Regions from separate parts of the Homo sapiens genome. Here regions 1, 2 and 3 are each linked to region 4. The links are contacts of gene promoters, found by promoter capture Hi-C in blood cells and fetal thymus (Javierre and others, 2016). All regions are on one chromosome and are shown on one strand. The core of a region is centred on a gene start or on the middle of the fragment in contact, and the rest is flanking DNA. Distances in the headings are between cores, read along the strand shown.

Region 1 (3,289 bases), core at 775-3,274, 320 kb before region 4:
TGCTAGAGAAGATAGGAGGGGTAAGGGAATGTTACAAGCTGAAGGACCAGTCCAGTTGGAGGCACGGAGTCAGGAATAAATGAAGAGAAGGGGTAAGAGTGCCCAGCATGTCTGTAAGGAAAGGGGGAGTCAGGACAGATCATGCAGACTGGAAAATTATGTTCATTGTTTATTCTTCATCTTGAGAACAGTGAGGTGCTTTGGGAGGGTTTTCCACGTAATCAGATTTGCAGCCTCATCACACTGCCTGCAGGGAGACTGACTTGCAAGGAGAGCAAGACATGAATCAGGGATACCAGCTAGCTGACCGTTGCTGGGATTCAGAGGATGTGATGGTGGGTAGTGGGGAAAAGGGTAGTAAGCATGGGGAAAAAGAGAGGACAGACTGGAGAGTTCTAGGAGGTGAGGTCTAAAGGGACTTGTGACCACTTAGATTTGGGGAAGTGAGGAAAGGGAGTAGGCAGTGCTGAGACTCAGGATTTGGGCGTGGGCGACTGGGTAGACCATTCCCTGAGCTGGGATCCCGAGAGAAGTGAGTTTAGGACACAAAACATTGTGATGATTTGTCCCCATTGAGTCTCAGATATCCAAATATCTAAGTAGACCTCTAAGTATACAGACATGAAACTCAAGGGAGATCTGGGCTGGGCTGGGCTGGAGATGGTTTGGACTGGTCAGTGTATACATCCTGTAGTCATGTAAATTGATGGTATTTCTCAGAGAGAATGTAGAGTAGGAAAATAAGGTGGCCCTGATAGAAAACTCCATGGAACCCCAACATTTAATGTTTGGGGAGTAAAAAAATGACCTAGGAGTAAGAAGGACCCTCAAAAACTAAGAAGTGGTCAAAAAATAGGAGGTCAACCAAAAATGTGTAGCATTATGGAAGCCAACACAAGAGACTGTTGCTCAGCTGGGGACAAAGTGGCCCACACTGTCAAATGCAGACACATCAAATAAGACAAGGAATGAGAAAAAGATCAGGAATAAAAGTGCCCTTTTGATTACATTTATGCTATTATATAGATTCTTCAGTTACCTGTGAAGCCAGTATGCAGGCAGCAGGGTGTAAGTTAAGATGCTCTAGATGCAGGTAATAAAAAGGTTAAAGAGACTGAAACAATAAGCAAATTTAGAAAGTCTGCAGGCTAATAATTTTTGTATGTTTGTCCTCTAAGGTATCCCAAATGCCTCAAACAATCTTAGAGTTTGTTGGTGCTCATTTCATATTTATTGCGTGAAAGAATGAAACTCACATAATAAAGTCCAATTGTAGGGCAGCTCCAGGGCTGGTTCATTCATCAGCTGTGTACCATGGCTAATGGATGCCATCCTCTGGCTGTAACTCCTCATGGTGACAAGATGGCTGCAGCAATTCCTACATCACATGCGTATACCACAGTGTACAGGGAACAAACGAAGGCTATATCTTCTTGGTATCTTGATGACAGCAAGAAAATTTTGCACCAAAGGTTTTTCAGGATTACCCTCATGTCTCATAGATGAAAATTTGCGCAGATAACCATCAGATATTTTCCTCTAATTTTGACAAATGTTTCCATAAATTTAAGTATTGCAAGTACAGTCACCTGCCTGAGTGCTGCTGCATGATGTAAATTCATATTGGAATATCCACCATGAAACCACCCTTTCTAACTGCTTACCTGGACCCCTCCTGTGAACTCATGGCAGGGCAGGGTACGTGGGGCATAGTGGGCATCAATGCCTCATCCACATGTCCCCGGCCTTCCAATGCTCTATTACTCCCCAGCCACTGACATGCATTGACCTTTATAACTGGAAAGCCAGCCAAACTTTGGGAGTCTAGTAGCTGATGAAGGAAAAGCTGGAAATAGCTTAGAAAAATGTTCCAGATTTCATACTTTTGCCCAAGACTTGTGTAAAGTTAGACAAGTCAATGGGGCACGCCACCCAATTCATAATGTCTAAAAGAACAGTACTCTTGCAGGAGTCCTGAGCCAGGGTTTCCAGTTCTGGCTCCATCGTGTTCTGTCTGTGGAAGATACAGGGCATCTTTTCATCTCTCTAGACTCTGGTTTCTGATTGAATATAACCCCAGGACCCTAGACTGCTGCCGCCAGCAAGGCCATGCTTTCATTTGATCCCTTCTCACTGTTCCCAGGCCCAAGCCTGCTTGATTGAAGGCAGTCTGTTACCAACCGGGTGATCCTCCTAGAGTCTCTGGGAATCATTCCATCCTCCCATGGAATGATGAACTCTTCAACTCCATTCTGGCCCTTGCCTGTCATCTCATAAAGGACATAATCCCGTTTGGGCTTAAAGGACGTAATCCAATGTGGGAAGTTAGGTCATCACCTGCTTAGAGCAGGTACTCGATCAAGGTTAGCTATGGTCTCCACCAGCCACCTGTTCTCCCTGCTCTTCTGCTCTCCTTTCATGCTTTTCTCAAGTCCTCTTCACAGTCCCCACCCCACCCCACCCCACTTCCGCCCAAGTAGAGCCGAGATCCACTGAAGGCTCAGGACTCCTCCAAGGGCCATGTGTGCCTCTGTAGTTCTGTCTCACTGCTCTCAGGGCTCCCACTGTCCATGTGTGCCCTGGAGCTCATCCCCCATCCCAGCACTCCAGGTTTCCCACAACTGCAGTTTCTCTAATAGGACTACAGTACACTGAGCCAGACACTCATTATGGTGGAGATCAGTGTAGCAGCATCATTTTAACCTCTCTGTTCCAGAAATGGATTGACTTTTGCATACATGTAAGGCCCATGGTTGTGATTTTCAAGTCTACCTTGAGCGGTGCTGTCCAGTAGAACTTTCAACAGTAACAGAAATATTCTGTCATCTGCATCGGCCAATGCAGTATCCTCTAGCTACGTGTGGTGGTGGAGCACTTAAAATGTGGTTACTCTGATTGAGGAACTGCTTTGTGAATTTTGTTCAATTTTAACGAACTTGAACACCACTACATGTGTCTAATGAATGCCCTATTTGAGAGCCCAGCTAGAGAAACAGAGCTGTGCAAATTTTGAAATGGCCATCCCCTATAACTTCCCTCCCCCAGCTCTAGCCAATTTTTTTTTTTAGATGGAGTTTCACTCTTGTTGCCCAGGCTGTAATGCAATGGCGCAATCTCGGCTCACTGCAACCTCTGCCTCCGGGGTTCAAGTGATTCTCCTGCCTCAGCTCCCAAGTAGCTGGGATTACAGGCATGCGCCACCATGCCCGGCTAATTTTTTGTATTTTTTGTAGAGACGGGTTTTCACCGTGTTGGCCAGGCTGGTCTTGAACTCCTGACCTCAGGTGAT
Region 2 (3,228 bases), core at 314-2,813, 310 kb after region 4:
ATAGAAACTTCCTAGCTATAAAATATTCTCCTGGGACTACTGGGAGCTTAGAAGTAGAAAAAAAAAAAAGAAAAAAAAGAGAAAGAGAAACAAAAACAAAAACAAAAAACCCCAAAACCCTAAGCCAAGGAGTAGGTTGTAAAACCAAGAACAATGCTCTTTAAACCTCAGGGTTTCAGACCAGGAGAGCCCGATGCATCAGATCACCACTAGAGGGCGGCGTGGAACAAGATTTTGTGCACCACTAAACCTCAGTCTTCATTAACTCAACATTGACTCACCCACAAAAGAAGAGCCTAAATATTGACGCTGTCATGGTTTTAAAAATAACATCTATGTAGCTCTATATCCCCATGCCCCAGAAGTTTATATGCCATACTGCTTTTGGAACTGGCTGTAAATATCATAGTTAATTTGCAATTTAATATTTAACATTATAACTTTACCGAAAGAACGAGAGCCAGAAAACTCATCTTCACCAATGCATGTTACAAACACACTCGCTGTATAATTTACTACTGCCTTGTGCTTCAGAGTAATCCAAGTTTATGATTACCAAGAACAACCTCCCCGCTAGGTTACTAAATGACATAAATTCACTGGCTTGATGGGAGCTAAGCTATGATGCAAAGGCAAAAGGATGATACAGTGGACTTTGAGGACTTGGGGGAAAGGGTAGGAGGTGGGTGAGGGGCAAGACTACACATTGGGTACAGTGTACGCTGCTAGGGTGATGGGGGCACCAAAAATCTCAGAAATCACCTCTAAATAACGTCTTCATGTAACCAAACACCACCTGTTCCCCCAAAACCCACTGAAATTAAAATAATGAAACACTAAAAAAAGACTATAAGAACAATTCATAGTCACAGTTACTGTTCAAATATACCACAGACACTTTTGTGTCATGTAGAAAAAGTTACTATCATGATGGACAGGATTTAATTGAAACTCTGTGCATTGGTTGCTTTCTGGAGATTAAGGTCAATATAGTCATTCCAGATAAAGTAATTACATGTAAATCATATTTATCAGCATATTTAACTAGTAAATTCAAGTAAAATAAAATCAGGGTAAGTATTTTGAGTGCTGCATTATCAAGTCTGCAAAATATTATAAGCTTTACTTTTCTTATAAGAACACTGAATGAATCCACTCTATATATCCAATAATTTAAAAATATGAGTATTTGCAAGAATGAAATTTCATCATTTTTTTTCTTTTCTTTTTTTTTTTTTTGAGACAGGGTCTCACTCTGTCACCCAGGCTGGAGTGCAGTGGCGTGATCTCGGCTCACTGCAATCTCTGCCTCCTGGGTTCAAATGATTCTTCTGCCTCAGTCTCCCGAGTAGCTGAGACTACAGGTGGGCCATCACGCTGGGCTAATTTTTGTATTTTTGGTAGAGACAGGGTTTCACCACGTTGGCCAGGCTGGCCTCGAACTCCTGACCTCAGGTGATCCACCCACCTTGACCTCCCAAAGTGCTGGGATTACAGGTGTGAGCCACCATGCCCGGCAGAAATTTTTTCATTTTGGTTTAAAGACTAAAACTGTAATTGTGAAAAAAATTTCTGGAAAATTTTTGTTTGCTGGATGATGTTAATGACTTAAAATGAGTAAAATCTAAATGTTACATGATTGAAAAATGTACATATATATCAGCCTAGTTATGTTATTAAAATGACTCCATATAAAATTTTAAAAAAATTCACTGGCTTTAATCTACATTCATGCCCTGTATTTCCTGATGTCCTTGATGTAGTTTTTCCCAGGTTGGTTAGCTACACACAGTCATTTTCCTATATCAAGTGAATTCAGTTCTTCCTGAGTATACAACCCATAAAGATAAAGGTAACCAAAAGAGTTTCTCCTCTTCCAGACACCAGTGACATGCTATAGTCAGTAACTATTTAGTAACACTAGGTGATTTAATCTTTATGGGTGGAGACTGTTGTTGTAAGACTAGAAAGACAGGTAACACAGCCTTAATAATTATTTTGTATAACGAAGCTTGGATTAACTCTTGAAATCCAGTGGCAGTTCCAAAACACAAGTAGGTTACTTTTTTGAGTTTCAGTATTAGCTTCACTTATCATTATAGCACATTTTATCTAAAAGCAAATTGTCAAAAATGAGAAAACAACAAACAGTTGTGAGTACTCAGTTTCTGCATGTGTATTCAGTTTTGTGTTAGTGCAAGATGCTCTCTCTGCCCTATTTCTCATTATGCTAAGAATAAAAAAGGCACCTGATGTTACCAAATTCAAATAAAGTCTGAGCAAGAAGACGGCTGAATATTCAGACAGGGTTAAAAATCACTAGAGGCAACCCGACACATATCTTTATTAAAACACACTTAGGCCGGGCGCGGTGGCTCACTCCAGTAATCCCAGCACTTTGGAAGGCCGAGGTGGGCGGATCACGAGGTCAGGAGATCGACACCATCCTGGCTAACACGGTGAAACCCCGTCTCTACTAAAAATACAAAAAATTAGCTGGGCGTGGTGGCAGGGGCCTGTAGTCCCAGCTACTCTGGAGGCTGAGGCAGGAGAATGACGTGAACCCGGGAGGCGAAGCTTGCAGTGAGCTGAGATCACACCACTGCACTCCAGCCTGGGTGACAGAGCGAGACTCCGCCTCAAACAAAAACAAAGAAAAAAAAAACACACTTGCCGGCCAGGCGCAGTGGCTCACTCCAGTGATCCCAGCACTTTAGGAGGACAAGGTGGGCAGATCACTTGAGGTTAGGAGTTTGAGACCAGCCTGGCCAACATGGTGAAACCCTGTCTCTACTAAAAATATAAAAACTAGCCAGGTGTGGTGGTGGCGTCTGTAATCCCAGCTACTCGGGAGGCTGAGGCAGGAGAATTGCTTAAACCCAGGAGACGGAGGTTGCAGTGGGCAGACACGGTGCCACTGCACTCCGGCCTCGGCAACACACTGAGACTCTGTCTCAAAAAAAACAAAAATAGAAAACAAAACAAAATACCCTCACAACTTCTCACTGCACTTAAAAGACAACATAGAAATTTTCTTTTTTTTTTTGAGATGGAGTTTTGCTCTTGTCACCCAGGCTAGAGAGCAGTGGCACAATCTCAGCTCACTGCAACCTCTGCCTCCTGGGTTCAAGCGATTCTCCTGCCTCAGCCTCCCGAGTAGCTGGGATTACAGGTGCCCGCCACCATGCCCGGCTTATTTTTTGTATTTTTAGTACAGACAGGGTTTCA
Region 3 (3,316 bases), core at 399-2,898, 300 kb before region 4:
CTCAGTGTCTGCTGCTCTGGTGACATGTTTGAAAGGAAACACAGGACAATTGAAAGACACCAAGCGTGATTAATGGGGAGTGACAGTGGCTAATGGTCTGGTAGAATGCTGGAGGAAATGTGAGGCTGAACTGGAACTACTACCAAATTCACAGTCAGGGAAAGTCATGCAGAAATACCTCTACCGTGGCGTTTGCTTCCACTTTATCAGGAAAATGTAATTAATTTGGAGAGTATTTGTCTTACAAATTTCTTCTGTTCATCAGCCAGGTGGGGAGAAGTTCTCTCATTCTCCCTGTCTGTCTTGCTTCATTTCTTGTTAAAATCTCCTTCCATCTCACCTCCTCCAACATCAACCATGCAACAGCATGCGATACAGGGCCAGGAGTTGTTGGCATCAGTTTCCTTTGTTTCCAGAAGTACAGTGTCCGACAGAGCTTGTTGTGTAATGAATGTGATCTGAAGTGAAATGCATCCTTCTTGGAATCCTTGGAGTGATGGGTGACCCCAAAAGGGTGATGAAGGCAAAAGCCACTGTCTCCTGCCTCTCTAAGTCATCATCAGTCACTTCTCTGTGGCATTCTGGCTCCAGAAGTCAGATGTTCAACGCTGCATGAATAACCTATGCCTTCTGCATAAGGTACCTGTGGCAGGTGCCCCCGGCATGCCAGTTGAATGAAGGATAAATCAATTTAGCTGGACTTCACAGTCAGATGTTCACATTTGGGTAATAATAATGTCAGCCTTTTTTGAGAACTTTACCACATACTCTTTGATATTGTTATCATTATTACCTCTTTTCACAGATGAGCATGAAATTTGGAGAAATTAAAGGACTTGGTCGTAGTTACTTAGCTAGTAAGTGGCAGATAAGCATGAACCTATTTTTTTTGACTCCAGAATCCTCATTTATAACCATTTGTTTATAGTATCTCCACCAAAATTCCCACCCCCCCTTTTTTTTTTCTTTTTTTGAGACAGGATCTCACTGTATCTTCCAGGCTAGAGTGCAGTAGCACAATCACGGCTCACTGCAGCCTCCACCTCCCAGGCACAAGTGATCCTCCTATCTCAGCCTCCTGAGTAGCTGGAACTACAGGCACATGCCACCACGCCTGGCTAACTTTTGTATTTTTTTGTAGAGAAGGAATTTCACAAAGTTGCCCAGGCTGGTCTGGACCTCCTGAGCTCAAGTGATCCACCCATCTCTGCCTCCCAAAGTGCTGGGATTACAGGAATGAGCCACCTTGCCCGGCCTATTCCCAAATCTTTAAAAAAATCAGCTTTCTTTGTGTTTTAGCATTGTATGTTTTCATCTGCTTAAGAAGTTTGAAAATCGGCCCCTTTGTTTTTAAAAGTTGTGTTATTCTGCTTGGGCTGCCGCAACTAAAGAATGTAGATTGGGTAGTTTACACAACAGAAATGTATTTCTCTTAGTTCTGGAGGCTGGAAAGTCCAAGATCAAGGTCCGTAGGGTTCGGTTTCTAGTGACATATCTTTTGCTGGCTTGTAGACAGCTCCCTTCTCTCTATGTTCTCACATAACAGGGAGAGAGAAAGAGATCTCTGATATCTCTTCTGCTTTTTTTTTTTTTTTTTTTAAAACAGTTTCTACTCCGTCGCCCAGGCTAGAGTGCAGTGGCATGATCTTGGCTCCCTGCAACCTCCACCTCCTGGGTTCAAGTGATTCTCCTGCCTCAGCCTCCCGAGTAGCTGGAATTACAGGCTTGTGCCACTATGCTCAGCTAATTTTTGTATTTTTTTTTTTTTTTTAGTAGAGGTGGGGTTTCACCATATTGGCCAGGCTGGTCTCGAACTCCTGGCCTGAAGTGATCTGCCCGCCTCAGCCTCCCAAAATGCTGGGATTACAGGCGTGAGCCACCAAGCCCGGCTTGATGTCTCTTCTTATAAGGACATTAATCTTATCATATTAGGGTTCCATCTTCATTGCCTCATTTGACCTTGATTACTTCCTTACTCCAAATACAGTCACATTGGGGGTGAGAGTTTCAACAGATGAATTTAGGAGGTGGGGGGACACAATTCAGTCCACAGCATGACTCAAGGACAAAAATTATCTAGTTCTTCAAAAATTAGTCATATACTCAAGGCACTTGGTTATAAAGAGGAGGATCTGAGTTCAGTTGGGTCGGGTTTCAAAGAACAGACCCAAAGGAGACAGTTTGTGTAAGAGTCAGGAGCAGGGGTAAACCACATGGGAAGCATCTGACCACAGTTAGAGATTACTGACACTTCAGCAAAGAAAGGAAACTGAGGCTTATCCTTGAAAACAAGTCCTACTGATAATACACACCTACCCAGGACTTATTTGCACAGTGGTTAGAATTCAAAATACAAGGAAACTTAATATATTCTCAGAACTTAGTTGATTGCTCATTTCAATGTTACCAAAGTATTCGCTACTACAACTTTGCCTGACAAATGGTGTCCATGACCTGTGTTATTTTCAGCCCCAGCATGTGTACCTGTGTAACAAGAATCCTCTCTCCATGCTTGACCAATATTCCTGGTTATAGCTATCTCTCTAGTTTTGTGGACTTTTTCACTGTTCTACAGTCACATGCTGCTGCGTAATTTCATTATGTGTCTCTGTTTTTCTCTGATGCTCTCTCTCCCCCATTGATCCCCACATTCCCAACCCTCCATGTCCTCCTCTCCAACCCTCCAGAACCACCTGGCTACTTCTGCCTCTGTCCCTGCCTTCCCTCCCAGTAATCCCAGTGCAATAAAACCAAAGATTAGACCACTGTGAGCTTGGACTTTATCTATGCCTTTAAATGGAAAAAAAATGAATGTTTGCATAGAAGTCTCTCTTGGTAACTGATAATTTGAAGGTGTTCTGTGTTCTTTGTGAGATGGTCGGTCAAGTGCAGCCATAAGGTTTATTATACTCACGGGCCCTAGAGACAGGAGGCACGGCTCACCACACAGGGCACATGGGGAAGCCTCAGGGTGGTCAGGAGGCAGAAAGCAAGGAGAGGGGAAAGCCGAGGCCAGAGTGTTTATTGGGGTTTCTGCAGAAAGGCAAAGCAGGGCAGACAGAGCACTTTAGGACTGGCTAGTTTGCATGGTGTCAGCAGGCTCTAAGCTATACAAATGTTCTATAGTTGCCTGGTACCTGGCCATGGGATGATTAAGGCAGAGGAATAATGCATCCTGGGGTGGACAGGCCTGATAGAGGAAGTCTGGCTCTGGACTGGCTTGTTTCCATATCAAAGGGCTGCTCCTGACTTGGCCCTTGCTAACTCTGAGAATTGGTCAGCCCCAGGAGGGACAGTCTCCCCAGCCAGAAAGGTT
Region 4 (2,990 bases), core at 34-2,533:
GTTATAAGATATTTGATATGCAAAGAGCCAATGTAAACAAGGGAGTTATCCACCCAACATACATGTTCCATTAAACAGAAAATAAATATTAGCATTCAGTTCAATGGCATTCAGTTCAAGGCCAAAGAAACAGGCCACAAAGGGCAGACACTTAATAAAATTAACTGACAATTAAAACTGACAATGTGGGCAGCCTCCTTAGGAATTCTATCAGATGTTGCATCTGAGTCAATAGCCAAATGGCCTGATGAAAATGCCTTTCTATGGAGAAAGAGTTTTACATTCTGTTCATAGCTCTTCGAAGACAGAATTAAAACACACGTATATTTCACCTACCCTGAATCCATACCTATTTTTAACAAATAAAACAGTCTTTCCAAGACTACATAACTTCCGGCTGGTTTCTGGATGTTGTCTCTGTTCCTTCGCAGCTCCTCCCTTCTAATCTGTTCTACTATTCGCTTCATCTGGTTATAAGCTTTGTTCTTGTTATAAGCTTTGTGTTTTTCCTCACCAATAGAAACTTCAGCTTTCAAAGGTGAGCTGCTCATTTTCTTGGAATTGTAAGATCAAGCAACCTTCCTGGGATTGTTTTAGGTTACGTGCAAGAACTGATGATGAACAAAACATGCCCTTCTCTTTCCCCTGAGCATAGGCTGAGAGGCTGCTACTCTGTCCTCAGAGATTGTTCAGACTGCCTGGGAGTTGAGGGGAGCAGGGACCAGATGGTGAGGCACCCTGAACTCATCTCCAGCCCACGGGTCAACACTGTGCCTTCCGAAACTATTCCTGAAGGCGATTAGGGAGGGCCTTTTCTCATGCAAAGCATCCATGCCTCTGGAGCTACTGCGCCCATCCTCCTAAAAATTTAAAATCTATTACTCCAAATTGGGGCAGAAGACATTTCCCGGGAGGCTGCAGTCAAAAGTTAAAACCCCCTGGTTTTACCAAATCAGTCTTTACTAACCTATGACGCCTCTGAAAACATTCTAATACATCATCACCCCCATCCAACCACTCCCACCGTCCTTGCCTCCAGCGCAGACGAAATAATTCCAGCCGATGGTAACATCTGCAATCTCACGCTAAACTAACTCACAGCAGAAAGAAACAAACGACCCTAGCAGGGCGCCACCGCTGCTGAAGGGCAGGTCCTCTATCGCACCCAAGAAAACCCGACACACGTGTGCGGCCTTTTATTCAGGCGTTTCTGGGCGCGCACTCGCCTCTCCCAGGCGCGCGCGCGCACAACCCTCCTCCACCCCCCCATCCCCCCCCCCCACACACACACACTTGGACACTACACACACAGCTGAGGAGTAACTTTCCTCTTCTCGCGGAGCACCCTATCCCCTATTATCGGCATCTGATCTTCCTAGTTCGGATCCCCGGAACACACGCCTTCTCCAGCCTGCAATCTACACACGTGGGGAAGCGCGTCCAAGTGGTGCCAGGAGGCAGGAGGGAAGCGCAAAGGTGGGGAAGGCCGGGGACGAGGAAGGAGGGAGCTCTGAGTCGGATCTGGGATCTCAGATCCCCGGGGCAGCGTAGATGCAGGGTAAGCTTCTGGGATGCGGAGAGGGAAAGGCAGGGGGGAAGGAACCTAGAGAAGGTTAAAGGGCGGGGGTGGGACGGAGGATGCGGGGTAGGGGTCGCTCACCTAGGGTTTTGACAGCGATCTGTCTGGTGAGGGGCGGCGGCAGGTTAATGCACACCAAGTCCACGTCCTGATGCAGCAGCACCTCATCAATGCGGCTAGTGTAGAAGGGGACACTCATCTCCTTGGCCAGCTCCTCCGCTTCTTCCTGCGTGCGGCCCCACAGCGCCTTCACCGCGAAGCCCTCGTCTTTCAGCAGCGGGATGATGACACGGGCCGTGAGGCTGGTGCCGAACACGCCCACCCCGGGAAGCATGGCTGCTCAGAGCCGCCTGGTTCTGCTTCTGCTCGGATCTCCAGTCCAACGCGCGCACACACCCACCTCTAGCCAGTCCTGCACCCCGCTCCTGTAGCCAATCTAGCCGCGGTGCGCCAGCCGCCGTGCACCGGGCAAGGCGCCCGGGTGCCCAGAGCGCACCGAGCTGCAGGCGGAGCAAGCTCGGGGCGCCTCAGAACGGTGACTGCGGCAGTGTCCGCCACGCGGGGCTCGCGTCCTTCCCGGAGTCGGCGGCAGGGACCCCCCCAGGGCGCCGGAGGCTTCGAAGCCCCCTGGAGCCCCGGCTCAGGCTGCGCTCCCGCGGCAGCGCCAGTCCGCTGCGTGCGCCCCGCCAAGGCCGCTCCATGGCCGGCTCATCCCCGCGGCCGCGCCGCCGCAGCCCGGGACCGGCTCTCTCCCGCGTCGTTTGCGCAGCCGGCGAATCGCACAGACAAACGTCTACACCCTGCCAGAGCACGGAACCGCTCCGCGGGGGAGTCTCCTTTCTTCCTAGCTCTCCGTTGGGAATGAAATAATCCCGCGGCCGCCAGGAGGCCGGCTAAGGATGCGGCCCGGAGCGCGCCGGACTGGGATCCCGAGCTGCAGCGCGGCAGCGGCGGCCACGACCCGGCGCCAGCCTCCTCATTCTGCTGCCATGTTCGCTCGCCTCGCGGCTCGGGCGGCCTCGGCCCCAGGCCGGCTCAGGCTCTGGGATCCCGCGGGGACGAGGGCGGAGTTGGCGAGTTTGGCTGTCAGCGGCCGGTGTTCCTGCACCGCCCTCGCTGCAGCGCCGCGCGCCATTGGCCGCCGCGCGCCGCCCCCGCCCCCGCCGCCGCCAGCTCCGGGTGCGCGCTGCGCCCGGGCCCCGGGAGCCCAGCCCGGCTCCTCCCCGGCCCCGCCCAGGCCGCCTCGCCCGCCTCCTGCCCCTCCGCTTCTTCCCTTTCTTTGCCCTCACCATCTCCTTCTCTTCCCTGCTTCACTCCAAACCCCGCCCCAACCAAGCAAATACATCTATCTAGGCAGGACGCGCCCTAATAGGTTAGTCGCCTGTCCCTTGGAAGAGAGCAGTGGGCGCCT

What was found. The method cuts DNA at HindIII sites, captures the fragments that hold promoters and counts their contacts. A CHiCAGO score of 5 or more calls a contact.
Region 1: a contact is called between a fragment that was not itself captured here and the fragment with the promoter of GFOD1-AS1 in region 4, in 1 of 17 cell types (monocytes). The highest score is 5.1, in monocytes.
Region 2: a fragment that was not itself captured here is called in contact with the fragment with the promoter of GFOD1-AS1 in region 4 in 1 of 17 cell types (naive CD4 T cells); the score reaches 5.4 in naive CD4 T cells.
Region 3: a fragment that was not itself captured here is called in contact with the fragment with the promoter of GFOD1-AS1 in region 4 in 2 of 17 cell types (neutrophils and total B cells); the score reaches 8.3 in neutrophils.

What each region holds. Positions count from the first base shown.
Region 1 is chr6:13,168,719-13,172,007 of GRCh38, forward strand. All of the region lies in intron 6 of PHACTR1 (phosphatase and actin regulator 1), which reads left to right. Among named protein-coding and RNA genes, the nearest start is that of TBC1D7, 160 kb to the right of the region's middle. The HindIII fragment of the contact is 5,861 bases long and covers 1-3,289 here.
Region 2 is chr6:13,795,067-13,798,294 of GRCh38, forward strand. All of the region lies in intron 6 of MCUR1 (mitochondrial calcium uniporter regulator 1), which reads right to left. Among named protein-coding and RNA genes, the nearest start is that of MCUR1, 18 kb to the right of the region's middle. The HindIII fragment of the contact is 891 bases long and covers 1,119-2,009 here.
Region 3 is chr6:13,188,444-13,191,759 of GRCh38, forward strand. All of the region lies in intron 7 of PHACTR1 (phosphatase and actin regulator 1), which reads left to right. Among named protein-coding and RNA genes, the nearest start is that of TBC1D7, 140 kb to the right of the region's middle. The HindIII fragment of the contact is 5,237 bases long and covers 1-3,316 here.
Region 4 is chr6:13,484,978-13,487,967 of GRCh38, forward strand. GFOD1-AS1 (GFOD1 antisense RNA 1) reads left to right here and starts at 1,284. Exons shown (of 2, transcript NR_046709.1): 1 at 1,284-1,476; 2 at 1,704-1,794. GFOD1 (Gfo/Idh/MocA-like oxidoreductase domain containing 1) reads right to left here and starts at 2,623. Exons shown (of 2, transcript NM_018988.4): 1 at 1,661-2,623. The coding sequence starts at 1,913. RefSeq lists silencers at 1,811-1,974, 2,115-2,594, 2,615-2,990 and an enhancer at 1,875-1,984. The HindIII fragment of the contact is 1,067 bases long and covers 495-1,561 here.